Linked DNA regions of Homo sapiens: all the other regions are linked to region 5. Evidence: promoter capture Hi-C in 16 types of primary human blood cells and fetal thymus (Javierre and others, 2016). All regions are on one chromosome and are shown on one strand. Each heading gives the region's core, a stretch centred on a gene start or on the middle of the fragment in contact. The rest is flanking DNA. Distances are from core to core; before and after follow the strand shown.

Evidence for each region. The method cuts DNA at HindIII sites, captures the fragments that hold promoters and counts their contacts. A CHiCAGO score of 5 or more calls a contact.
Region 1: a fragment that was not itself captured here is called in contact with the fragment with the promoter of CCDC59 in region 5 in 1 of 17 cell types (total B cells); the score reaches 6.4 in total B cells.
Region 2: the fragment with the promoter of GALNT4 here is called in contact with the fragment with the promoter of CCDC59 in region 5 in 7 of 17 cell types (non-activated CD4 T cells, total CD8 T cells, naive CD4 T cells and 4 more); the score reaches 14.4 in non-activated CD4 T cells.
Region 3: a fragment that was not itself captured here is called in contact with the fragment with the promoter of CCDC59 in region 5 in 1 of 17 cell types (non-activated CD4 T cells); the score reaches 5.6 in non-activated CD4 T cells.
Region 4: a fragment that was not itself captured here is called in contact with the fragment with the promoter of CCDC59 in region 5 in 1 of 17 cell types (total B cells); the score reaches 6.9 in total B cells.
Region 6: a contact is called between a fragment that was not itself captured here and the fragment with the promoter of CCDC59 in region 5, in 1 of 17 cell types (fetal thymus). The highest score is 10.0, in fetal thymus.
Region 7: a contact is called between a fragment that was not itself captured here and the fragment with the promoter of CCDC59 in region 5, in 1 of 17 cell types (total B cells). The highest score is 6.3, in total B cells.

The regions. Positions count from the first base shown.
Region 1 is chr12:76,074,145-76,077,659 of GRCh38, forward strand. It overlaps NAP1L1 (nucleosome assembly protein 1 like 1), which reads right to left. Exons shown (of 15, transcript NM_004537.7): 2 at 59-95. The coding sequence starts at 75. Among named protein-coding and RNA genes, the nearest start is that of NAP1L1, 8.8 kb to the right of the region's middle. The HindIII fragment of the contact is 155 bases long and covers 2,109-2,263 here.
Region 2 is chr12:89,523,546-89,526,714 of GRCh38, forward strand. GALNT4 (polypeptide N-acetylgalactosaminyltransferase 4) reads right to left here and starts at 1,251. Exons shown (of 1, transcript NM_003774.5): 1 at 1-1,251. The coding sequence starts at 1,004. POC1B-DUSP6 (POC1B-DUSP6 readthrough) reads right to left here and starts at 2,502. Exons shown (of 11, transcript NR_189589.1): 1 at 2,336-2,502; 2 at 1,575-1,659. It overlaps POC1B (POC1 centriolar protein B), which reads right to left and starts at 2,502. Exons shown (of 12, transcript NM_172240.3): 1 at 2,336-2,502; 2 at 1,575-1,659. The coding sequence starts at 2,350. POC1B-GALNT4 (POC1B-GALNT4 readthrough) reads right to left here and starts at 2,717. Exons shown (of 3, transcript NM_001199782.1): 1 at 2,336-2,717; 2 at 1,575-1,659; 3 at 1-128. The coding sequence starts at 2,610. It also overlaps POC1B-AS1. RefSeq lists an enhancer at 968-1,177 and silencers at 1,268-1,647, 2,198-2,457. The HindIII fragment of the contact is 3,011 bases long and covers 1-2,800 here.
Region 3 is chr12:75,504,682-75,508,255 of GRCh38, forward strand. KRR1 (KRR1 small subunit processome component) reads right to left here. Exons shown (of 10, transcript NM_007043.7): 3 at 2,101-2,235; 4 at 1,803-1,928; 5 at 1,635-1,718; 6 at 517-573. Among named protein-coding and RNA genes, the nearest start is that of KRR1, 5.1 kb to the right of the region's middle. The HindIII fragment of the contact is 3,394 bases long and covers 247-3,574 here.
Region 4 is chr12:75,482,752-75,486,140 of GRCh38, forward strand. All of the region lies in intron 2 of GLIPR1 (GLI pathogenesis related 1), which reads left to right. GLIPR1-AS1 (GLIPR1 antisense RNA 1) reads right to left here. Exons shown (of 2, transcript XR_007063373.1): 2 at 703-3,389. Among named protein-coding and RNA genes, the nearest start is that of GLIPR1, 3.7 kb to the left of the region's middle. RefSeq lists an enhancer at 272-321 and a silencer at 2,629-2,798. The HindIII fragment of the contact is 850 bases long and covers 956-1,805 here.
Region 5 is chr12:82,356,461-82,359,774 of GRCh38, forward strand. It overlaps CCDC59 (coiled-coil domain containing 59), which reads right to left and starts at 1,927. Exons shown (of 4, transcript NM_014167.5): 1 at 1,763-1,927; 2 at 500-809. The coding sequence starts at 1,916. It overlaps METTL25 (methyltransferase like 25), which reads left to right and starts at 2,069. Exons shown (of 12, transcript NM_032230.3): 1 at 2,069-2,364. The coding sequence starts at 2,106. RefSeq lists enhancers at 1,736-2,296, 1,807-2,366, 2,297-2,857. The HindIII fragment of the contact is 1,548 bases long and covers 1,692-3,239 here.
Region 6 is chr12:74,544,598-74,547,942 of GRCh38, forward strand. It overlaps ATXN7L3B (ataxin 7 like 3B), which reads left to right. Exons shown (of 1, transcript NM_001136262.2): 1 at 1-833. Among named protein-coding and RNA genes, the nearest start is that of ATXN7L3B, 8.4 kb to the left of the region's middle. The HindIII fragment of the contact is 7,760 bases long and covers 1-3,345 here.
Region 7 is chr12:76,553,454-76,556,926 of GRCh38, forward strand. All of the region lies in intron 1 of OSBPL8 (oxysterol binding protein like 8), which reads right to left. Among named protein-coding and RNA genes, the nearest start is that of OSBPL8, 4.6 kb to the right of the region's middle. The HindIII fragment of the contact is 287 bases long and covers 1,279-1,565 here.

The DNA of each region.
Region 1 (3,515 bases), core at 936-3,435, 6.3 Mb before region 5:
GAACAGAGTACAAAGTGATGCCAAATCTCTGAAAAAGAACCAACTCTCTGCCACTTACTTGTCAATGTCTGCCATGTTGTAAGAACTCCAAATATCTATGGAGAGAAACATCAATGTTAAAAAAAAAGTATATGATTTATTAAAAAAAAATAAGAAACCAAAACCCTTTAAATCAATACCATACTGAAAACTATCCCAAGAAATGTCTATTTCCTTTAAAATACTATCAGTGTTAAGAAGAAAAAACTCATGGAACATGCAAATTCTTCCTTACTAGTACCAAAAATAATTTTTCAGAGGATATTACTTAAAACAAAAAAGTTACCACTAAGCTTTTAGAATCTGTTGTATAAAGACTATGATAATAGCACCATTGGTTAAAAACAAAACTAACATTTGCTAGAATCATAGGAAAGGAACAGTACAAAAGGATCTTCATTCAAATTCTTTCAACAATCAAGAAAGGTCAATTTCTGCTTAAATTTTTAGACTACGTAGCATCTTAAATCCATTTATCCATTTCGTATTTAGCAATATTCATTTTATGTAATTCATGTTTAAGAAAACCAAAATCTGATGCCTACTGTACTCACTATGCCCTCTGGATATCTTTTTAAAAGACTTAATCCCTGGATCAAATAGCCATTTAGACTATTTCAAAAGCTCTAGGTCCCAATCTTAATGTTAGGTAAGCCTTCCCTATCTCTCCAAATGTACATGTACCTCATGTTAGATAACTGACAACCACCAACCTCCAGCTTCCCCTAGATATGCTAGGGACATTGTCAAGACTTGTGGTTACCAGACCTGAGTAAGTTTACTGTTAAGACTCACCAGAGGATATCCTAAGTTCCTTCTCACTAAAAGATTAGTATGAACCTGGAGAATACTGCTTTTGGAAAAACAAATCTTAAAGCAGATGTGTTATATCCAGGCAGAAAAAAATGGTAGAATGCCACAGGTAATCTACAGATTACCAAAAAAAACTAAACCAAGTTTAGATAGAATCCATGTTAAAATCAAGTTTATCTTAGCCAGGCACAGTGGCACGAGCCTGTAATCCCAGCTGCCCAAGAGCCTGTAATCCCAGCTGCCCAAGAGACAGGAAGATCTTTTGAGCACAGGAGTTCAAGGCCTGCCTGGGAAATACAGCAAGACCCTGTCTCTAAAAAAATTATGAATAAATAGAATCAAGTTATCTGGTAAAAATTAAAATCTTAATACATATTTAATTCACAAAATCCTGCATGTGTTTACTTTCATAGCAACGTATTATGCCTATGAACAAAGAGTTAAAAATGGAAAACATCCTGATTTTAGCAGTTAAGTGCTAATATTTGGGGGAAACATTATTACTGACCTAGTATCTATCCTTTAGAGTAATTATAAAGAAAATTATTCTTCCTAATGTATCTAACTCTGTAAATATTTTGTATTTGTTATAAATAATTCCTAATAGTACTGATGAATTTTTCTAGTGATGCTGGGTAATGAGTCAGCATTTACAAAGTGTTTAGCAATTATGAATATTAATCAAAAATAAGAAAAATACTGAACTCTGACATCAAAGAAATCCAAGTAGGATTCCAGTTTGTCTACCACATCATCAATAACTTCTTTTTAATACAGGGAAACCTGTAGTGCACATGCATCCTTATTTCCAGCTAGTGTTCCCGTATCTTTTCTGGAGAGCAACCTGACAATAGGAATATCAAAAGCCTTAAACATGTCCATCTCAGCCAGGCACCATGGCTCACACCTGCAATCCCAGCACTTTGGGAGGCCGAAGCAGAAGGACCGCTTGAGGCCAGGAGTTCAAGACAAGCCTTGGCAACACAATGAGACACTGTCTCTTAAAAACATAAAAATTAAAAAAACAAAATATGTCCATCTCCAGATTTATTCACTTATGAGCTCTACCATGAAAAAATTATAAAGAATCTAATGCCTTTGCTTTCCATGTTCACCTAGAAGGTTCTTCCACAGCTCTGAACAAGTCCTGCACATCCTTTGGCTCTCATTTCAAAGTTTCACTCCCCAGAGATGCTTTCTCCAACCTGCACATTCCGGTTAAGTAAGATTTCTTGGTTGTACACACACTCCTATAAAGCTTTCTTTTCTTTCCACCATAAGATGTCTCAGTCTGTAATTATAAATTAGTTTGACCTATGGTCTGTCTCTCCCAACTGACAAAATTCATGATTACAGGAATTAAATCTGATCTTGACAATCATAGCGTTGTCTTCTTTGGGGTAGCACACAAAGCTTATTATAAACTTAGTACTATAATGGAATATGCAAAAATGGAATGCTTTGCAGTCACAAATGAAACAGATCTGAGTTGATATGAAGGAACACTAAAGCAAGGTATAGGATGTATGCCGAAATCCCCTTTGGATATGGAAATATATATATATATATATATATATATATATATATATATATATATCTCCACTCATATACGCACATACTTTAATACAAATAAACCCTTTCTGAAAACAAACACCAAAAACCTAACCAGAGTAACCTAATGAGAAAGAAGGGACTGGGGGTAATGAGAACTAATTTCCCATTCACCATTACAGTCATGTGTGGATTATATGTTCTGAGAAATGTGTCTCTGGGTGATTGTATTGTTGTTCAAACATCAGAGTATACTTACACAAACCTAGATGGTATAGCCTACTACGCACCTAGGCTATGATATAGACTATTGCTCCCAGGCTACACACCTATACAGCATGTGACTGTATTGAATACCATAGGCAACTTTAATATAATGGCTAAGTATTTATGTGGTGCATGACTGCATTTGGTTTTCCAACACACAGATTTATATAATAATTTCCAATACACAAATTTATTCTGAGATTTGCTAGGTTTAATATATAGTGTCTACTAAACCCAGCAATTGTCAAAAACAGAAACAAAACCTAAAACTTCCAAATTTAAATTTTTGTAACATTTTAATGTGTTCACAGAATGGCTACACTGCTAACCTCAATGTCCATTTGCAGCATTACATTTACAGTTTAAATTCTTAAAATGAAACTTTAGTAAAGAGGATCCAAGACAGAACATTTACAGAACATTAACAGGAGGCATTTACTCCTCCAGAGAAGGCTGCTCTAACCTGCCCATTCTGGCTACATTGTATTTCTTGGTTGTAAGATAGACCTAATTTTCTAGTCAGTTGTAGTCAGATCATTTGGGCTGACATCAACTTTGTAGCAATCTACAAACTAAGACAAACAACTTCTGGCTCTATTTCATCATCTATATAAAGCAGAAAAACATCTGAGGAAGTGGGACCCAAAAATCTGCATTCTAAACAAGAAACTCAGCTTCTGAGAGGTGGTTCTCAGGTAGACCACATTGAGAAACACAAGTTTAGGTTAATACCTGTATTAATATTTTACTGCAGTTGACATTAAATAAAATCAGTGAGAATCTTATTTGTTATACATTAAATTGCATTCCAAGATCTCTGTGAAAAACTTTCATTCCTGAAAGCG
Region 2 (3,169 bases), core at 1-2,500, 7.2 Mb after region 5:
CCCCACACTTCCATTCCTGTGTCATACGTTCCAAGGTACTGAAAATATTTCTTGCTGACAGCAAACAGTCCTCCAGCCATGGTAGGTGATCTGATGGGGTCAATTCTTGATATCCGCCTGTCCCTTTCCTGTTTGGGGACAGAATGCCACTGAAATGTTAAACGCCAGTCAAACCCACCAATCATGGGCTCCCCTATCTGCATATAGAATTCAAAAGTATTCCAATCAATTGTGTCTATAACAGGACACACAACTGCTGTTTCATCTCTCCCAATCCTTTCCAAAAGCGGTTCCAGCCAACCGGAATTACACTCACAGTGACAATCCAGGAAAGTGAGGACGTCCCCAGTGGCGAAAGTGGCCCCAATCAGACGGGCCCTAACCAGCCCCTCTCGCTTATTGGTCCTAATCAAGCGTACTCTATCAAGATTGCTGATGTAAGTTTCAAGTTGTGTCTTCAAATAAACTCTGTCACTCAAGTCATCCACCAAGATGATCTCTTTCAAAAGAACTGCAGGAGAAGTTTCTAAAACACTGTGAATGGTACGGAGCAAAGTCGACCAGGCTTCGTTATAGAAAGCAATGATAACAGAGGTGGTAGGAAGTGTCCTATAGTTGAACTTCTGGGACTTACACTCATACATTCTTTTATCCTCTATGTGTCGATGCAGGGAAATCCTGTCACTGAGGTAAATATTGATGGCGTATCTCTCAATGAGTTCTTCTTGCTGCTTCAGTTCATCCTCGTTGAGCTGGAGTTTGCTGGCTTTCCCCCACTCCCCAAGTGCACGGGAATCTGCAGGGGGCTTCTTATAAAGCGGTCGAGACAAATCCTCCGTATTTTTCTGGAGGTCTGAGAGCCTTCTTGACCCCAGCTCCCTGGCACGGCCGGCTCCTGCGGAGGCATGAAAAGTAGAGACCAAGAGCTCCACGAAGATATAGGCCACTGTTAAAAACGCCAGCAGCAGGCAGCTCTTGCCTGCCCAAGTCCACCTCACCGCCATCCGGATTCTCAGGGCTGAGGCGCAGACGCGGCCACCAAGCCACCACGCAGGGGAAGGGCGGCGGAACCCACAGCTCGAGCTCAGGTACTTCCCAGCAGGTTCTTCCTTTCATGCAGGCGCTAGGCTCCTTTCCAGCCACCCAGGCTTTCCAGGGGTCACCTGAGCCCTCTCGGTCCTCGGCCTCCGGCACAGCCCAACTCCTCTCTCCCTACTTCCTCCTGCTCGGCTCACAACTTTTCACAAACTCTCCAGCCAACACCCCACCCTCCCCGGGCCGAGGAGAAACCCCTCCCCTTCCCACTCACTCCTCCTGGTGGTTAGTTTGCGAAAGTCGTCCGCCAGGCCCAGACCGCTGGATAGGAGGCTCTTGGCCGGGCCGGGGGCTGGGGGCCGGGATGGCAGAGGGGGCCCTAGCTGCGCCCCGCCGCGCTGGGCCCTCGTCTCCGGGTGCTCTCAACCCTCATACAGGCCCTTAGCCGTTCTCCTAGGGACCCTGCCCGGACAGGAGGAAAGGTTTCCGGCCCATGGAGTTTAGTCTCATTACAAAAGCAAAACAAGAATAAGACTTACCAAGTTGCTTGCCGTTGGGGCTGAGGTCCAAGGAGGTGATCGCAGCTTTGTGGCCTTTGAAATAACGCTCCAGAACGGGGTCCTCCTGGAAAGGAAAGTTGTCAAGTTTTGAAAGCCGCCGCAGACCTCGAATTCTGGCGGCTGGGATCCACGCTGCCACTTCCCCGGAGTCCGGCTTGGGAATGGCCACCCAGGCGGCGGCTTGGCTGGGCGGCGGGGCCGGGCAGCAGCCCACCCACGGGCGCGGCGCCCAGTCCTGCTACAGGGAGACGCCGGCGCCAGCTCTCCCCGCAGAGCCCGCAAAACGCTCTGTTCGCGCTTCCCAGAGTCCAGCGCATCGCAGGAACCGCGGCCCCTTTGAAATGCACGTTCCCGGGCCCCGCCCGCTGGCCCAAGGCAGGCAGGTGCGAGGATGCGCCTCGGCTTTGGTACTTTTTTTTTTTTTAATACTTCCTAGGTGATTCTGACGCAGGCGCTCCACGGAAACCCTCCGAGAATTCTGGGGGCCGTGGGGCCGCCCAGCTCAGTCCGGAGCTCCGGAACTCGGGGAAGAGCGTCCGGGAGCCGGGTCTGGGTTCCGCACTCCGTCCGCCCCGATGGCAGAGAGTGAGATACGGACGCCCCGGGACGAGGGGCTCAGGACCCGGCTACGGACACCTGCCTCCATCTCCCTCCAGGTGCGGCTTCGGCCCGGACCTGGCCCCGCAGCCCGCGGGACAGGCTCCAGGGAGGGACCCCCCCCACCTCCAACCCGTCCTTACCGTGGCTGAGGCCATCGGGGGAGTGGTCGGCCCAAGGCTCCTGTGGGTGGGGGAACCCGGAGAGGGGAGGGGAGAGGATGGGGAAGGAGAGGGGACCGTGCGGCTCCCGGAACCGTCTGCCCAGAGCGGCAGCGCCTCCCGGTCACTACAACAACGGCGGCCCAGTCAAACCCCGCGCTCCAGGCATGGCCAGCCGAGCCCCGAGACACCGCCAGCCCTGTAAAGAGAGGACGGGAGGTATGCGCCGGGTCAGCTGTGGCCACACACCAAGCCATGTTAACTAACACTCGCGTTCTCCCTGGTTTGATGTCAGGAAGTGGGGTAGTAACCAGGACTGGAATAAGAGCGATGAATGGAAGGGCGTTGTGAGCCTGTGATCGATGCGATCAGAGTTCTATTACGTTTTAAAGAGACAGCACCCGTGACGTTTAAGGTGATCCCCTACCGCTTATTTTGTTGACGTAAAGCTTTGACATGAAGAGGGGCAGCTTGCTAGTTATTAATATACTAAAAGGAACTAAATCCCCTGAGGGCAGATTTGAATTTATTTAACCACTGTTTTCCACACAGTGCCCTGCAGGATATTGATATAGTTGCTGGATGTGCGTGATGAATGAATGAGTGAATGAATGAATAAATGTTGTGCATGCACTTAATAATTTTCTGCGATATGTTTCCATTCTCATCTGCTTATTTGCGTATACCTTAGAGCACTAAACTTACACAGCTGGATACTTAAAGTCTTTAGGAAGACTTGGAAACATGGTTTTTTTTGTTTGTTTTTTGTGAGACCACGTTTCTACAGCAGGCTTTGTTACACATAGTATCATTTGT
Region 3 (3,574 bases), core at 694-3,193, 6.9 Mb before region 5:
AAAATAGTTCTATATACCATGGTTACATTTCCAAGAATAATCAAACTTTGTGCACACAGGGATATAACAGTTCTCTCTCAAAGGAGCTACAATTTGAGTGTTAAATTCATAAAAAGGTTTTAACGCAACATGAGATGTTCCAGATTTTAATAGAAAAAGGCAGATTTCCGAAAGATCATATCCTTAAATACATGGGTTCATAATCTAAGAAAACTGGATTGATATGATCTACAACAGATTCTGTGAAGCTTACTTTCATTGATTACAACTATATAACATATTACAGTATCCCCTTCAGTAGTTTTCACACTGTGCTCCACAGAGAGCTTCTAAGAAGTACCTACAAAACTGGGGTAGAATTAAGTAGGCTGAAGTCTACCCCTAATTTACCCAAAATAGCTCTGCTTTATCTGTTTGTGCATTAGAATTTCATAAAACATTTAATTTCAAGAAAGGTTTCTGTAGCTAAAAGAAGTATGATAATCACTGGTACAGTTATATATAATTACCACTCACTTTAATGTTATAAATTGGATGAATATTCTTCATAGTATCAAGGACTACTTTTCTAACCTGAAATTTGCAAAGAAAAATGAATTAGTCACAAGGATTTTAATGAGCTATGGAGAAGAGGATTAATACTGCAAAAATCAGGTAATGGGTACCAAATTAAATAATGTAATTAAATAATTAAGTAGTTCCTTCAACTGCTCTGAGTGGCTTCTCCATCTTTCATAAAGGCAGTCAATCTCCCTTGAATACAATACAGTTTCTCAATTACTGCTAAAATGTAGCACAGAGAACTAATACAACACTCTAAAGCAATGTGATTTAGGAGGAAGAGGGCTGGAATACAAGGACTGCCACTGCATACAGGAAAATCACTTTCCTGTTCCAGCTTTCTCATTTGTAATATAAGATAAAACCATATACCTCAAGACTCTCTTGTAAGAATTGTATTCAATATACTTAATTATTGCTCCATGAGAAAAGAGCAGACAATTTATGACAAAAAAGGCCAATAGGATTACTATTAAAGGCCCTGGAAAGGAAGCACAACCTCACAAGCCAGATCCAGACAGTAATAGTACCAAAAGGAGTTAACAGAAACAGCATTTGCTCCACAGATTTCCTCACCACATGTAATTTGAGAAGTTAAAGAAAATGTTCATGAAAAGTTATTAAACATTATACTAAAATTCAAACAAAAGAAACTACATCTTGAAGAAAAGTTTTCAGAGTGTGACCTCTACTGGCTGTATACACTACTGCAAATAACTGGATTTTTGCTCAATTTTCCCGTCATTTGGACATATGTAACTATACCATGTTCATACATGCTACAGACTGAAGATCTTAATGCTCATTTAAATTTTATAGTGGGAGGAGTAATAGTGTGCAGACCATCTAATTCAGAAATGGATGTCTCCATAGTTGCCAAGGTTGGCCAAAACATGTTAGGGTCCAGATATGATGATTCCCTTGAATTATATGACATAAAAAGTATTTACTAATGGGAAATCAAAGCACATTCTAAAGAAATAAAATTATAAAGCATTATCCAATAAACTATATTATAACCAAATTATTTGTTCTCTGCTGAAAATGAATCGAAGATAATACATAGTTCTCACCTCTTTTAAGCCACTAAAAGGTCCAATGGCTGAAACTGTGTTTCCCTGAACCATAATGTAACAATTAGTTAAGAGTTCCAATGCCTGTATCAAGAGATCAAGTTAAAATTCATTACTCTGAAAAAGTATTAAGGAAGAGACTCAAGTTTTCCACTAATTAAAAAATACCTTCAATGTAGATCCTTTGGGACCAATAAGCCGTTGTCTTCGTTTTACAAATCTCTCTTTATTCCTTACTAAAGAACCTATTTTAATGATGTCACATGCAACATCATCCTGAAGAATTCGTACTGCCTTTTGCAAAAAAAAAAAAAAAAAGAAGACATTATCAACATTTTTTACAATTACATTCATTTTCCAGGCCCACGCTATTGTTACCTAAGCACAAATATGAAAACTTGATGGTGGGATGTTATAGGTTAACACTGATGCAAACAAAGCAAAGTCTCTGTAATTCTAGATTTACCTGTTCAAATGAAACACTCCTTGCTAACAGTTTTATCAGATCTCTGGCCCTAATGATGATATATGGATCAAAAGTCTTCTTTGTAGTACAAACAGTCATGCTGCCTTCGATCAGGTCCAGGGTTGCATTAACATGCTACAGAAGGAAAGAGCAAACAAGCAGTTGTCTAAAAATGAGTTTTTTTAGATAATTATAAAGCCTCTCCTAACCAACCTATTAATTTCTGTCACCTCTCAATTCCTATCAATTACTTCCCTGAAGAAGCTAGGTAGTTAAGTATAAATAATGAATACTCAATTACTTTCACACTTTACAGACTATAAGAAACTGGAGCAATTGAAACCATTTACCCTTGGTTTTAGAATACTTTGTACCCACTGGAATATAGATTGCCTCTAATTTAAAAATTATAAATCAAACAAATGAGGTCATACTTAAAATCTGACTAAGGTAAAAATGTAAAGCTGTACAGCTTCCCTATTCTGGACCCAGCTCCAGTCTACCATCTGCTCCATTGGGTAAGAATTGACTTTCCCTTTCAAACTTTTTTCGAGCTAATTAGGGGACTAAATACAAAGTAAAAGCAAATTATCATAGTTTCAGAAAAAAGCAATGATTAGAAAACTTAAGCATTAACTTTCAACAGGAAAAAACAGATTTCAACAAAGCGAATTAAAATGCTATTTTCTCACTTGTGAGCATAATCTCAAGAATATTTCAACATAGTTAAGTGCTGAACAATTCAACATATGGTTGAGTCTCTATGAGTTTACAAAAAAAAAATGAGCTCAATCCCAGATGCAGCTACAAAACACAACCTGCAGCTTGCTGAGCCACCTTCACCCACAATGGCACAACCAACTCCAGAGCAGTCCCACAGTTAGAAACACATTTTATATCACAACCTAATACATATACACACACACACAAACAAAGCCAATATCAAAAAAAGATACTTTTACCATGTGATATGTCATTTTCTAAAGGCTCATTATAGCCATTAAATTGACTTCTCAATACACTAATGGGTTTCAATCCCCAGTTTGAAAAAAAAAATGCAGTTATCTAGGGGCATAGCATCAGCAATAAACAAGGAAAAGTTGGACACATCCACATCTTCCATTTAAGATGAAAGGTAATCAATTAGAAACATGACTCAGCTCAGACTGGGACAGATACATGACAACTATCATGGCCTGGAGCAGGCATACTGAAATTGGGACTTCACAGGTGAATTTCAGACAGTTGTGAAGCTCCTAAAATATTAAAGGTATGTAAATTTTTCAAAGTAATTTATTACTCATAAAATTAAAACAAATGAACATTAGGTAAGAAGAAAACTTACTTAAATAGTTTAGAATACCAAAGGAACCAAAGTAACCAGCTATGTTAGCACCATTAAAAAAAAAAAAAAAGCATTAGCATACATACATTTAAAGGCATAAGCAAGAGCAAAGTCTCAAATAAATGTATT
Region 4 (3,389 bases), core at 131-2,630, 6.9 Mb before region 5:
TGGCTCCCTAACCCTACCTCACATTTGCAGCATGATGGAAACAACTCTCTAGGGAGCATCTGTCATAATTGTCTTCAGACGCTGCCTTCCTGTCCTGGCTACATTTTGTTTATTTACTGTCACTTCCTGGCCATCCTTGTCAAACCAATAACGTACGGTACTTAACCTATAATTGACTGTTTTGGGGCACAAAAAATCAGTTGAAATGAGGTATGAAGGCAAAAACGTTTCTATCAAGGCAGTTACATTGAAACATTAGGTGGTTTTAAGGAACAACATGGTGTAAGAAAACCTCCCTTACTCCAGCTCAGCCTTACAAAGCCTGTGATCTCATTCGTGGTGCTACAGATGAACCAAGTTTGGTGCAGTTACAAAAAATTATTATAAGAGTAAAATGAATTTCTCCTAAATTTACTTCATAAACTAACAATTTTGGTTTACATTTACAAATAAATTTAACCAGGAAATAAGTTTCCTTGGATTCCAACAAGACCTAGGGGAGTAGAAAGCTAAATCTAGATAGCCTACAAGTGGTACTTGTACTGTTATGCATTGCGGTATTTAAATACTCAGAAATAATTGTCAGTTTGAGGGTGCCTACTTTCATTTATTTATTAGTCAGTGTTTAAGCTTTTACCCTATAACAGGCACTAGTGATATGTCTTAGTCCAGATTCTTGGAAAACAGAGCCTGAGACAATAGTTTATGAGCTAACATTTTATTGGGATACAATCTTGGAGAAGCGGAAGTGAGGAGAAATAGGGAATGAGCCAGGGAAGGAGGAGAAATACAGCTGGAAATGGTCCCTGGCCCTCAGAAATTGACCTTTTGGGAGAGACTTATGTGTAAATGGATTATGACAGTGTTTGGCTAGTACAATTTAGAGAAGCTGACAAAGTGCCATGTGAGCAAGGAGGACAGAATGAGCAACTTATCCGGCCAAAAGGAAGTGTAAAGCTTCACACTGCTGGAGACATGTGAATTGGTACTTGAAAACTGAGTGGGAATTTTTCAGATGAAAAGGAAAGGGAAGAGAATTCTCAGCAAGGTGTGGAAAGTATACAATGTGTATGAATGGGCCTGGTACTTTAGATCAATGGCAAGAAGCTCAGCATGCCAAATATATAGAGGTCAAAAGACTGTAAAATTGACAACAGACTCCTAAACCATGCTCAATACACAAGTTAAGACACTCCATGTTCACCATTCCAGGAAATCGAAAGAAGAGAACATTTGAGTTTATGCCATAAATGCCTGAGATTTCACAGATGGCCCTCCCAAAATTAACTGAGCTTACTTGTAAAATTTCCCCTTACATCTAAGGGAAAAAAGGAGGACTAATATTTTGGTCATGAGAAAATTCATTTTCTAAAACCCAGTCCCATACATACAGATATTAAAACCCAAGCTCAGTGATCCTAACATGAGTGATCCTCTTTAAGAAACCACTACATTCTACCCCCACTTCAGAAGAGGGGCACTCATCACGGGGAGAATGTCCAAGAACCCCCTGGGCTGGGAAGATAGAGCAGCAGCAATCACTTTTTAAATGGGCATAGTGTTTAGCTCTCTACACTGAAGACCTCATTCAATTATTACCACAAATCTATTAAGGAGATGTTAATGGTATTACCCACAGGTGAATAAACAGACTTAGAGAGGTTAATAAGTTGTTCCCCTGATGTCATTTAGCTAGTAAGATGAAGAGTTGAGGTTCAGATATTAGATATGTTGGAAGGCTTAAATAATAATTTCACTTGCGTCCTTGTGAAGAGACCACCAAACAGTCTTTGTGTGAGCAATAAAGCTTTTTATCACCTGGGTACAGGCAGGCTGAGTTCAAAAAGAGAGTCAATGAAGGGAGATGGGGTGGAGCTGTTTTATAGGATTTGGGTAATGGAAAATTACAGTCAAAGGGGGTTGTTCTCTGGCTGGCAGGGGTGGGAGTCACAAGGTGCTCAGTGGGGGAGCTTTTGAGCCAGGATGAGCCAGGAGAAGGAATTTCACAAGGTAATGTCATCAGTTAAGGCAGGAACAGGGCATTTTCACTTCTTTTGTGATTCCTCAGTTACTTCAGGCCATCTGGATGTATACGTGCAGGTCACAGGAGATATGATGGCTTAGCTTGGGCTCAGAGGCCTGACAAATAAAATATGTATACATTACCTAATAAAATACTAGTATTTAGTAGGCATTGAACAAAGGGTAGATCCTTACATAAGCTGGTTTTCCAACAATCATAATGGAAGAAGGATCTGATAGCTAGGTGAAAGACTGTTTTCATCATGACAAGAAATCTTCCTGGGGGACTCAAAACTACTCAATTGCTGTGTTAAATTCATGCTGAACAGTTACTTTAAGTGGATATTACAACCTCCTACTTATCCTCATCTTCTCTTCAAAAATCGAGCTATTTGCAGATTTTGGCTGATGATGGGAGGTTGTACAGAATAAAGAAAATAGATTCAGGCCCATTAACTCCTCACAAAATGTATGATATTTCTTGATGTATTCATTCAACACTTTAGCTTTGTCTTCACTGGAGATAGACTGGCATTGAGAAAAAATGTTGGTGTATAAAATGGAAGATGACTCAAATTCGACATTCTGTTGCTGACAGTTCAGCTTTATAAAGTTTAGAAATAGTTTAATTAAAGTATCTGGGCAGGGTAGAGGATTACTTGGATTTGATAGTGCTAGGATTTCTCACTAGATGGCGCTACTGATCTTATTTTAGTTTTTCTCTTCCTGCCTCCTCCTCTCACCCTCTTGACAGCTTTATTTTATTTATTTATTTATTTATTTATTTATTTTTTTGAGACGGAGTCTCGCTCTGTCGCCCAGGCTGGAGTGCAGTGGCGGGATCTCGGCTCACTGCAAGCTCCGCCTCCCGGGTTCACGCCATTCTCCTGCCTCAGCCTCCCAAGTAGCTGGGACTACAGGCGCCCGCCACTACGCCCGGCTAATTTTTTGTATTTTTAGTAGAGATGGGGTTTCACCGTTTTAGCCGGGATGGTCTCGATCTCCTGACCTCGTGATCCGCCCGCCTCGGCCAGCTTTATTTTTATACTCGCATAGAACCATGGAAATGTGACCTGTTTCACAATTTCTGTAGTAGGTTTCATATATGTTACAATGTTACCATACTCCCGATAATGAACCAGAAGAGCTCATACCGAGAATTGAAAGGGAAAGATGGTAGGAAGGGGTTGTGGGCCTATAAGGGAGACATCTTCCTTCCCTCTGGGTTCCCCAGGTGCAGTGCTTTTGTAAGAAAGGTATAAAGAGTGGTTCCTGGTTCTGAAGAGCTTGCTAAAAGAGAAAACACTCTAAAAGCATCTTGCTGAGGGCATGGACTGTCCTCACAGTACTTCATGGCCAGGCAGAAT
Region 5 (3,314 bases), core at 677-3,176:
TGAGTAATCCATTCTGGAGCTGTGCAACATGGCAGCTCTGAAGTATATATTCATTACAGTATTATCTTTCCCAATTTAAAGAGGACATAGTGTTATTTTTCCCATTTTAAAGAAGAGGTCACTGGGGCACTAACATGTTGAGTCTGGCTCTAGAACCCATACTGTTAATGACTAAAATTATAACACCTCTCAGAAGTTATTTTTCAAAAATATAGTCATAACATATGGTCCAATCAAGTTACCACCTGTACTTGAGAGGAAGAAACCCAAATTCCAGAGCTCTTAATTCCCATTACGTTACTTTGTCAATTAGGCTAAACCAGCCTAATTCAGTTATTGAAGCTAAAAATAGAGCCTCCATGAAAATGTTTCCCTAATTAAACCGTGACTTCTAAAATGTGTTAAATAAGAAAAAATACAATTCCTATATAAATTATCCTATAGTACTTTTAAATAATAAAACAACACTTAAAGGATTTCAAATGAAGAAAATACATACTTTACTGTTTTAATACATTGTTCTTCTGGCTGAGGCTGGTCAAAGCTACACTGATCTTCAAATAAAGGCTCGTCAATGCTACACTGTTCTTCAAGCAACGGCTGGTGAACTTGTTCTGACAAAGGATGGTCGACTTTTCTTGCTTGCTTCCTATGTCTTTCCTCTTCAGCTAAATAGAGATGTTTCAGATTATCTGGGTATCGATCTGTGAATTGAGATTCCAGTGACGTTTGAGCCTTCTTTTCCTTCCGTAGCAATTTCTTGTAACTTTGCTGTATTTTCAGTTTTCTTCGAAAAGCAAAGCCTTGTCCTACATTGAGGAATATCATCCAAAATTACTTTCAGAGAAAAGAAGTTGAACGAAGAATGGAGCTGTTAATTACAAATGAAAACTTTTTTTACGTCATCACATTCAGATTCTAGTATTATATTTTGCTTTAAAAAATTATTTCAAGCAACAAATTTAAGCTGATGGATTGCATAGTAAGTTGGCCCTTTGCAAAAAGACCAGGCTAACAGTCATGCGGAAATCCAAGTAAGAATCTCAAAGAAAAACTGACCAGTTCAGACTGTTGCACAACTTGAGTTTACAGCTGTATTCACAAATCAAAACAAATTCCTTAGTTCATCTAAAACACTTAATCTGAGCCTTCAATAAATGCTTAAAAAATAGGAAAGAAAATGCCACATCTAGTATCTTGGACAAACTACATGTTTTCGAAAATGTTTCAACACGAAAGAAAAAGACAGTGTATGGTTGTCTGAAAAGCTAGCAATTATCGGAAGACTGAATTTAACATTTATATATTCCAAGTGGGATCTAAGAGACCTTACAGACAGCAATACAAAATGACAAACACAAATTAAAGCGAAGGCTGGAGGGCCTCGGGTATTTGTAATAAGGAAGAATTCGGAGCAGTGTTTCTGGCCCTGTCCTCCTCTCTATCCTTTACCTTACCACATGCGCAAGAGTTCACAGGGTCATAGACTCTCTCTGCTCAGTTTCTCAGGAAAAATATAGGAAAAAAGTTCTGATGAAATACAGGGTTACGTCAGAAAAGACGTTTAAATAATAGCAACACTGCTCCGTCTTCCTATCTAGAGCTCTGCGAAGCTCACAGCTTTAGCGGGCTCAGGAATGAATTCCCTTGCCCCAAGTAGGACCGGGTCTGGTTCCTAAATCCTTCTTCCAAGCTTCAGCGAATCTTATATCCTAAAACTTAGCAAGCCTGAGGATTTGCAAATGGTTGCCTTCTTACATACCCTCGCGAACGCTCCCCACGAAGGCTTGCGGGTGGTTAGGCCGCCATGTCTTCTGTCTCACATTCTTATTCCTGTACCCGACAGTGGAAACCCCTTCACCACGCGCCTCAATACCACCAGGCCGCCACTTCGCGGACCGCCTCACCGGCGCCATTGCAGCCGACTAACTGCGTCATCAGAAGACCACGACGGACGCCCACAAAATACGTCACCAAGCCGAAGCAATCAATCGCTCAGAAGGAATCCGGCTCGGAGCTCTACTGAGCCTGCCTGTGCTAATTTGGGCCGAGCTGGCGCCTCACGGCCATGTTTGCGCCACCTACAGCCTCGGAGGGTGAGCGTCATGGCGGCTTCTTGCCCTCTCCCGGTGACCCCGGACCTGCCCACGCTGCGTGCCAAGTTGCAGGGACTGCTGCAGTTCCTGAGGGATGCCCTGTCCATTTCCAATGCACATACCGTGGATTTCTACACAGAATCCGTGTGGGAGGAGCTGGTCGACTTGCCACCGGAGACAGTGCTGGCTGCGCTGAGGAAGTCAGCGTCGGAGACGGAGGCCCTGCCCTCAGAGACGCGCCCCCTAGTGGAAGCAGAGTGGGAAGCAGGTGGGTGGTGGGGTAGGCGGGGCGGGAAGGGAGGCGGAGGAGAAGGTCCCGGCAGACGAAGCGAGCCCCCTGGTGGAAGCCAGCAGAACCAGGTGCGTGGCGGCGGAGGCGGGGCGGCCCGCTGGGAAACCGAGGAGGGGTCGGATTAGTTGAGGGGTGGGGTGGGGATGTTCTTTGGAATCAGGATCACTCTTTCTTTGGGTGCTTGTGTATGTCCACAATTTAAAGAAAGCAGGAAACAGGGCAGGGGAGTTCCTTCATCTAGTAATTCCATAATAATTGACGCTAGGGAAACTAGGGGAGCAGTGCTCTCACAGGTTTTATAAATGCCAGCATGTGGTGGAAGATTACTCAACAGTTAATAAAGATAATTTCAAGTGGTGGTAATGAAGTAGAAAATAAAAACAGTGTAATGTGGTAGGGATTGTGTAAGGAGGCTGCCTCAATTTAGGAGGTCAGGAACATGAGAAGGCACTAGCTGCAGAGCCACAGGGAGGGGTTGCAGGCGGTGGGAACCGCAGGCTAGGCTTGGCTCTAGCCAGGTGAGGGGCTGCAGGTGCAGGACGGGAGGCAAGCAGAGGCCAGATGGCACAGGCCTTTCTAGGCCTTGGAAGGATTTTGGATTTTAAGTGTGACGGAAACCCTTGGGATTATTTAGGCAACATAGTGACCTAATTCACATTTGAAAAGATAACTGTGAATTATTTGAAGAATAGACTAGGGCAAAAGCTGAAGCTGAGAGGCCAGTTAGGAGACTACCTCAGTAGTACAACAGATGATTGTATCTTGGACTAGGATGGTATTCGGATAGTCACTATTTCATTTAAAAACTATTTTAAAGTACCTAATATGTGTCTTGAATTTTTGTAGGCTCAAGCTTTTCCTACCCTCAAGAAATGTAGATTCTTCTCAGGCAAGCATATTTTGGAAGTAGAATGATGGACACCAAC
Region 6 (3,345 bases), core at 160-2,659, 7.8 Mb before region 5:
AATAAAACTGTGCTCAGACACAAAATTAATTCCTATATGGATTAAAGATTTAATGTGTAAAAGTAAAAAATGTCAAATCTTTCTAGAAAAATATAGGAGGATGTGTTCATAATTGTGTATAAGGGGAAAATTTCTTAAAAGTACAAAACATAGAGAAAAGATTGATGTGTTCGACCATAATAAAAATAGAACTTTCTGTTCATTAAATCATACTAGAAACAAACAAACCAATAACCTGATGTGCTAGTTGTTTAGTTCTTATAACTGATTAAAGATTACTAACAAAATAGTTGTACAATTGCCAAATGTATAAAGTAAAAGAACAGCTCATTCTTACAAAAAGAAATATGAATGGCCAAAAAGTTGTAAAAGTTCCCTTAGGTTCAAAGAAATGCAAACTAAAAACAAAATACCAATTTACCCTACTCAGTATGATTAAATTTTTTTAAATGGTGATGACATCAACTCTGAAAGGCATATGGAGCAATTAAAACACTTAAACTGCTAGTAGGCTGTAAATTGGTAAAAAATGTTTTTAAAAGCAATTTAGAAATACCTGTTGTGGTTGAAGACAAAAGTAACCAATATCCCAATATTTCCACCTGTTGCAGCATTATATGTAATAGGGAAAAATTGAAAGTAATATACCCATTTGGAATACATATAGTCACTATACTGAAGTGAGAATAAATTAACCAGAGCTGTACAAATAAAATAGTAAACCTATGTTCTTATACTTTGTTGCCTTTCTTTTGATGTTTAACAATAGGCAAATCAATGCTGTATGTTGTTTAAATAATTGTGAATATGAAATAAAAACTATACCAAAAATATTGGATGAGACTTCCACTTTCATGGTTATGTTCCTGTAGATAGCAGACTAATTGATATAGGACATCAGTATGCTAAGTAAATTGAGGTAAAGATACTCTTAAATGCATTACTGTGTTCCCAAGGAAGTGAAGGAAATACCCAGAATACCCAGGTCTTTCTTCTAACGCACACACACCCCAAAGATACAAATGAAAACAGAAAAGGAGAGTGCACTGAGGAAAATATAGATACCATATGATACTGGGAGATTAGACCCTGATCATCACAAATTGAAACTGTAAATGCAAGATGCCTGAAATAAAGTTTATATCCTTGGTGAAAGGATGGGCAGAGTAAAACTAGATAGATTGATAAATGATTGATTAATGGGTGGACAGATAAGAGAAACCTTCATTACTTTAGAGAGAACAGATGAAAAAGAAAGACTCTGCTATTGCCTGAGGTGAAATGAATTGACTAAAATAATAACAGTCATGCCATTATCATCAACATTTACTTTGGGAATGTGTACCCATACACTTGGTTTCACATAGCTACCCTACCCTGCCAGTCAGAGAAACTTTGACCTGAGAATTTCATAATGTATTGAAAATGATATTGTACCTCTTGGCTACCTGACAAAATTTTGTTCCTTCAACATTTTCACAAAATATAAGTTTGCAATAAAAGAAGCATCTGTTTCTTTAAAGATTTCATTTATAGCCATCATACTTTTTATCTAATAAATCTGTTTACAAGAAAGGAATTCTAACTCTATAGTTTATTATTTCTGCTGACTATATATAATTAGAACTTTCTCAGAATTATTAGATACAGAATATGGCCTTAAATGAAATCTGTACATTAGTAGATGGAATTTTAAACGAGCAAAGAACAGGAGAAAATAATGCAGTTTTAAAAATTAAAGTAATAGAAATAAAAGTGCAAAGAATGTATTCCAAAAAAATTTAACGTCATTGTATAGGTAAAATCTCAGTTTAATCAAGCTGGAAAAAGAGAAGGAATGAATCAGAATGAAGCAGTTCATGCACAGCAGAGTAGTTGTGTTGCCTCGTCTCCCAGTGATAAACTTACATGCTATTTTTTAAATAAAATAGATAATCAAAAAGTGAAAGTGCAGCAAAGAAAAAAAGTGATAACACTTGAATTGCAATTGAATGTAATTAGAAGATGGCTGATCTTCAGAATGGTGACACAACATTCTAGAGGCCCAAGATATACAGCCAGAAGAACTCAGTCAATGAGAACATTGGCCGTAATGAAAAAGAATGAAGATGTTTCAGAAGAAACAAAGCTGTCAATAAACGACATTAGGTGTTATGTCAGATATTTCAAGATACTGAAAGTGCAAAAGGTAAGTTGTGGCCGGGCGCGGTGGCTCACGCCTGTAATCTCAGCACTTTGGGAGGTCGAGGTGGACAGATCACTTGAAGTCAGGAATTTAAGACCAGCCTGGCCAACATACCAAATACAAAATACGATGTAAAAATACAAAAATTAGCCAGGCTTGGTGGTGAGTGCCTGTAATCCCAGCTACTTGGGAGGCTGAGGCAGGAGAATCACTTGAACCTGGGAGATGGAGGTTGCAGTGAGCTGGGATCGTACCACTGCACTCCAGCCTGGGCGACAGAGTGAGACTCAGTCTCAAGTATGCTAAGGAGAATTCTAGATTCCTGTCCCCTGGTTATTCAACCAAATAGTAATCTGCTGTGAAAGGATTTTGCAGATGTAATTAAAGTCCCAAGTCAGTTGACCTTAACATGTGGTGATTATGTAGGTGGTCTTGACCCAATCACATAAGCACTTCAAAATCAGAGTTTTCTTCATCTAGTAGTGGAAGAAGACAGATTTTAAGTGTGGGAAAGATTCAGTGCACCATGGCTTGCTTTGAAGATGGACTGGGCCACATGAGAGGAATGTGGCTGCATCTAGGAGCTAAGAGTGGCCTCCAGTTTACAGATAGCAAAGAAATGGGGATATCAGACCTAAGGCAATAATAGGTTGTGGATTGCATTCTGCAAAAAACGAACAAACAAAACCCTGAATGAGCTTGGAAGCAGATTCTTTGCCAGAGCATCCAGATAAGAGCCCAAACTAGCTAACACTTCGTTGTCAGCCTTGTAAGACCCTTAGCACAAAGCTCAGCCTAGCAGACTGTGACTTTAGAACTAGAGAACTGTGAGAAAATAAAGGAAGGTTTTAAGAAGCTAAGTTTGTGATGTCATTATACAACAATAAAAACCTAATACAGTCATAAGCTGATCCAGATTTAGGAGTATGTCAGTTCACCAAGGCACAGAAAAGGTGCTTGCTCTATATCTTGATTTACATATGAGAATATGAGAAGAAGGATAGCAACGTTCAAACTATTCTTCTTCTTTTTTTTTTTTTTTTTTTTTTTTGTGTGTGTGTGACAGAGTTTAGCTCTGTCACCCAGGCTGGAGTGAAGTGGCATGATCCCGGCTTACTGCAACCTCCATCTCCCGGGTTCAAGTGATTCTTCTGCCTCAG
Region 7 (3,473 bases), core at 172-2,671, 5.8 Mb before region 5:
AGGGGTTCAAGACCAAGCTGGGCAACATAGTGAGACTCTGTTTCTAAAAAAAAAAAAAAAAACTTAAAAATTAGCCAGGTGTGATGGTATTCGCCTGTAGTCCCAGCTACTTGGGAGGCAGAGACAGGAGGATCACTTGAGCCTGGGAGGTCGAGGCTGCAGTGAGCCATGGTAGTGAGTGCCACTGCACTCCAGCCTAGGTGACAGCTCAAGACCCTGTATCAGAAGAAAAAAAAAAAAGGCCAGAGGAGGTAGCTCACGCCTGTAATCTCAACACTTTGGGAGGACGAGGCAGGTGGATCACTTTACGTCAGGAGTTCGAGAACAGCCTGGCCAATATGGTGAAACCCCATCTCTACTAAAAATACAAAAAATTAGCTGGGCATGGTGGCATGCACCCGTAATCCCAGCTACTCAGGAGGCTCAGGCATGAGAATCACTTGAAACCGGGAGGCAGAGGTTGCAGTGAGCCAAGATCACACTACTGCACTCCAGCCTAGGTGACACAGTGAGACTCTATCTCAAAAAAAAAAAAAAAAAAACACTAAAAAAAAATGCATACCAATTCTGTGAATCAGCCTTATTCTTTAAAACTATTTTTTAATTATAACAACTTAGCTTTAAATACTGTTATCTATTATGTTCTTTAATTTCCAGTTACTCCGAAATTCTCTGAAATTCCCCAGTGAGAAAATGGCAACTGGATGAACAATAAAATAAATATTTGCTTTACTCTAAGTATTTTTAAGATTTAAAAATAGGATGTCAGTCAAATACAAGTAAAATGAGAGAAAAAAAATCAAGGCTATATTCCATCTTCTTATAAAGTAAAGTGCATTTTGTAAATGACACAACTAAAACAGACTCAGGAAGATCACAAGGTCAAGACGTATCAAGAGGAGCAACTGCAAATAAATTATACAAGGCAGTATATAATATGATGGTTAAAAGGATAGGCTCCAAAGTCAAAGGTCAGGTTAAACCTCAAGTTTAAATCCTTTTAGTAGGCTCTACCACCTACTACTTAACTTCTCTGTGCCTCAGGTTTAGTTCAAATCCTGGCTCCACCACTTATTTAATCTGTCAGTTGCTCAGGTTTAAAAAAAAGAAAATAGCCTGATTGCGGGGTGGTTGTCAGGATCAAATGTGATGACATGTCAAGTACTTCTAGAGTAGTACAGTACCTGGTATATAGCAGTTGACGCACATTAGCTATTAATATGACCTATAACAATTTCCCTCTGAATCTATCAAGTTTTCAAAAACTCTAAATCAAAAAGCTTCTCCTTTTTATTTGAAAAAAGTCAAGCTCTGAAACCATTTCCTCTTTTTTTCAGTCCTTTTTGAATATGGAAATTAGTAGGTAACTGGCTTATCATTTGATGACTCTTCTTAGTCTTTGTATAATAAAAAGGCTCAAGACTCTTCTTAGTCTTTTTATAATAAAATTCTCTTCCAAATATTATACAAAGGACAGACTGCTCCATGGATCAAAAACACTACAAAGAGTTCACAAAGTATAATGAAATTCTGAGATTCATAAATGAACAGCTACTGGCACAAAAAGCTTAGATAAGAAATAATGCAGATGTCTGTTTGTTTGCTCAAGAAATACTGAATTTTATAATAAAACACAGATGGTAGAGATCTTCATGGCTTATAGTCACATCACTAAAAACAGAAAATATTTTTGGTAAATTTTTTCTTAACAACCAGAAAACCCCTTATTTCATCACAACAATGAATAGATAAATGACATTACAGGCAAAGACAATTTCTTCAAAAACAAATTACGTAGAGAAAAAAAGCTTAAAGGCTCAGATTTTCAGCTACACATATCCCTTACTTTGAGCTTCAAAAATTTGAGGCTTCTAGCACTCCTTGTGGTCTGTAACATTAAGCAGTAATACAATTAGGCCTCATTTCTACCAGAAAACATTAAACTGACTGAAAGAAAATTATCTAGAATTTTGATTCTGATCAATTTAAACATAATGCCATGAGTCATCTAGATGAGTCAAGCAAATATTAGAGTTCATGATAAACGAATCAAAATATGTTTTAAAGATCTGCAGACAAACGTTTTAATAATTTTGTATTTGCTGAAGTCCTCCTATGTGTGACACATTGAGGTAGGCACATTCATATTGAGGTATGCACTTTCACATGCATTATATAACTTTGTTCTCCCAACGATCATGGATTATTATCCTGATTTTACAAATGAGAAAACTAAGACCAAGTGATTGGCCGATGGAAACGACGCTTGTATAAGATTCAGTCAGAACACCAATTCAAATTTTCTGACCCTTATCGTACTTCCAAAACTCAAGTACTGTCAATCTCTGCTGTTGCAAAGCAAGTTAATCTTTTTATTTAGGGAGAGGTGAAAATAGAGATGGGAGAATAAAAATTCTTCATAATGTTACAAAAAAAGACTTACTGTGCTTTATCTGACATAATTTATTCAGTCTGACTTAAATGCTTTGCTGCACGTTGTCTACCCCCTTAGACACTGCTTATCTTCAGACACACAGCCCACACCAAAACCTAACTCAAGAATCACCTCCTCCAAGAAAGTTTCCCAGATTAAATGACCTGTTCCCCTTCTCCCAAGCTAACATCCTTCCTTTATCATTTCGCTGCTTGCATTTAGTTTGGACTACATTATCAGATACTCCTTTTGTTCTCCAGTCATATATCTGGAAGTAGACTTTTTTCATTCATTAACTATTGAACATTTGGAGATTCAATGGTGAGCAAAACAGACAAGGTCCTTGCTATCATGGAGAATTTACATTATCTGGATCTTCGACAAAGGTAAAAATAACAGGGTATAAGAATATGATGCTCTAGGACTAGGATTTCTTCCCTATAAGGTCTCCGAAAATAGCTCTCTCCCTTGCAAGCTTGATAACACTTTTCAGGAAGAAAAATTCCTTCTATCACGCCTTCCACATGAGAATTTTATGACTTTGTGAGGATATGTGAGGGATGGGGACCAAGGTGGGAAGAAAGATCTAAAATCTCTCAGGGGTTTCCCACATACTGCCATGAAATATGCACACAACATGAGTCTAGACATCTCTTCCTGTGTCTCATCACAAGGAAGCTATACTTTGGCCACAACTGCTCCAGTCAAGCACTTCTACTAATCTCCTTGTACCCAGCCACCTTCACTAAAAATTGTATATTTCTCAGAGGCTTTTTGTTTTTTTGGTGTTTTTTGAGACTGAGTCTTGCTCTATCGCCCAGGCTGGAGTGCAATGGCATGATCTTGGCTCGTTGCAATCTCTGTCTCCTGGGTTCATGCGATTCTCCTGCCTCAGCCTCCCAAGTAGCTGGGATTACAGGCACACACTGCCACGCCCAGCTAATTTTTTTGTATTTTTAGTAGAGACGGGGTTTCACCATGTTGGCCAGGCGGGTCTTGAACTTCTGACCTCATGATCTGCCCACCTCAGCCTCCCAAA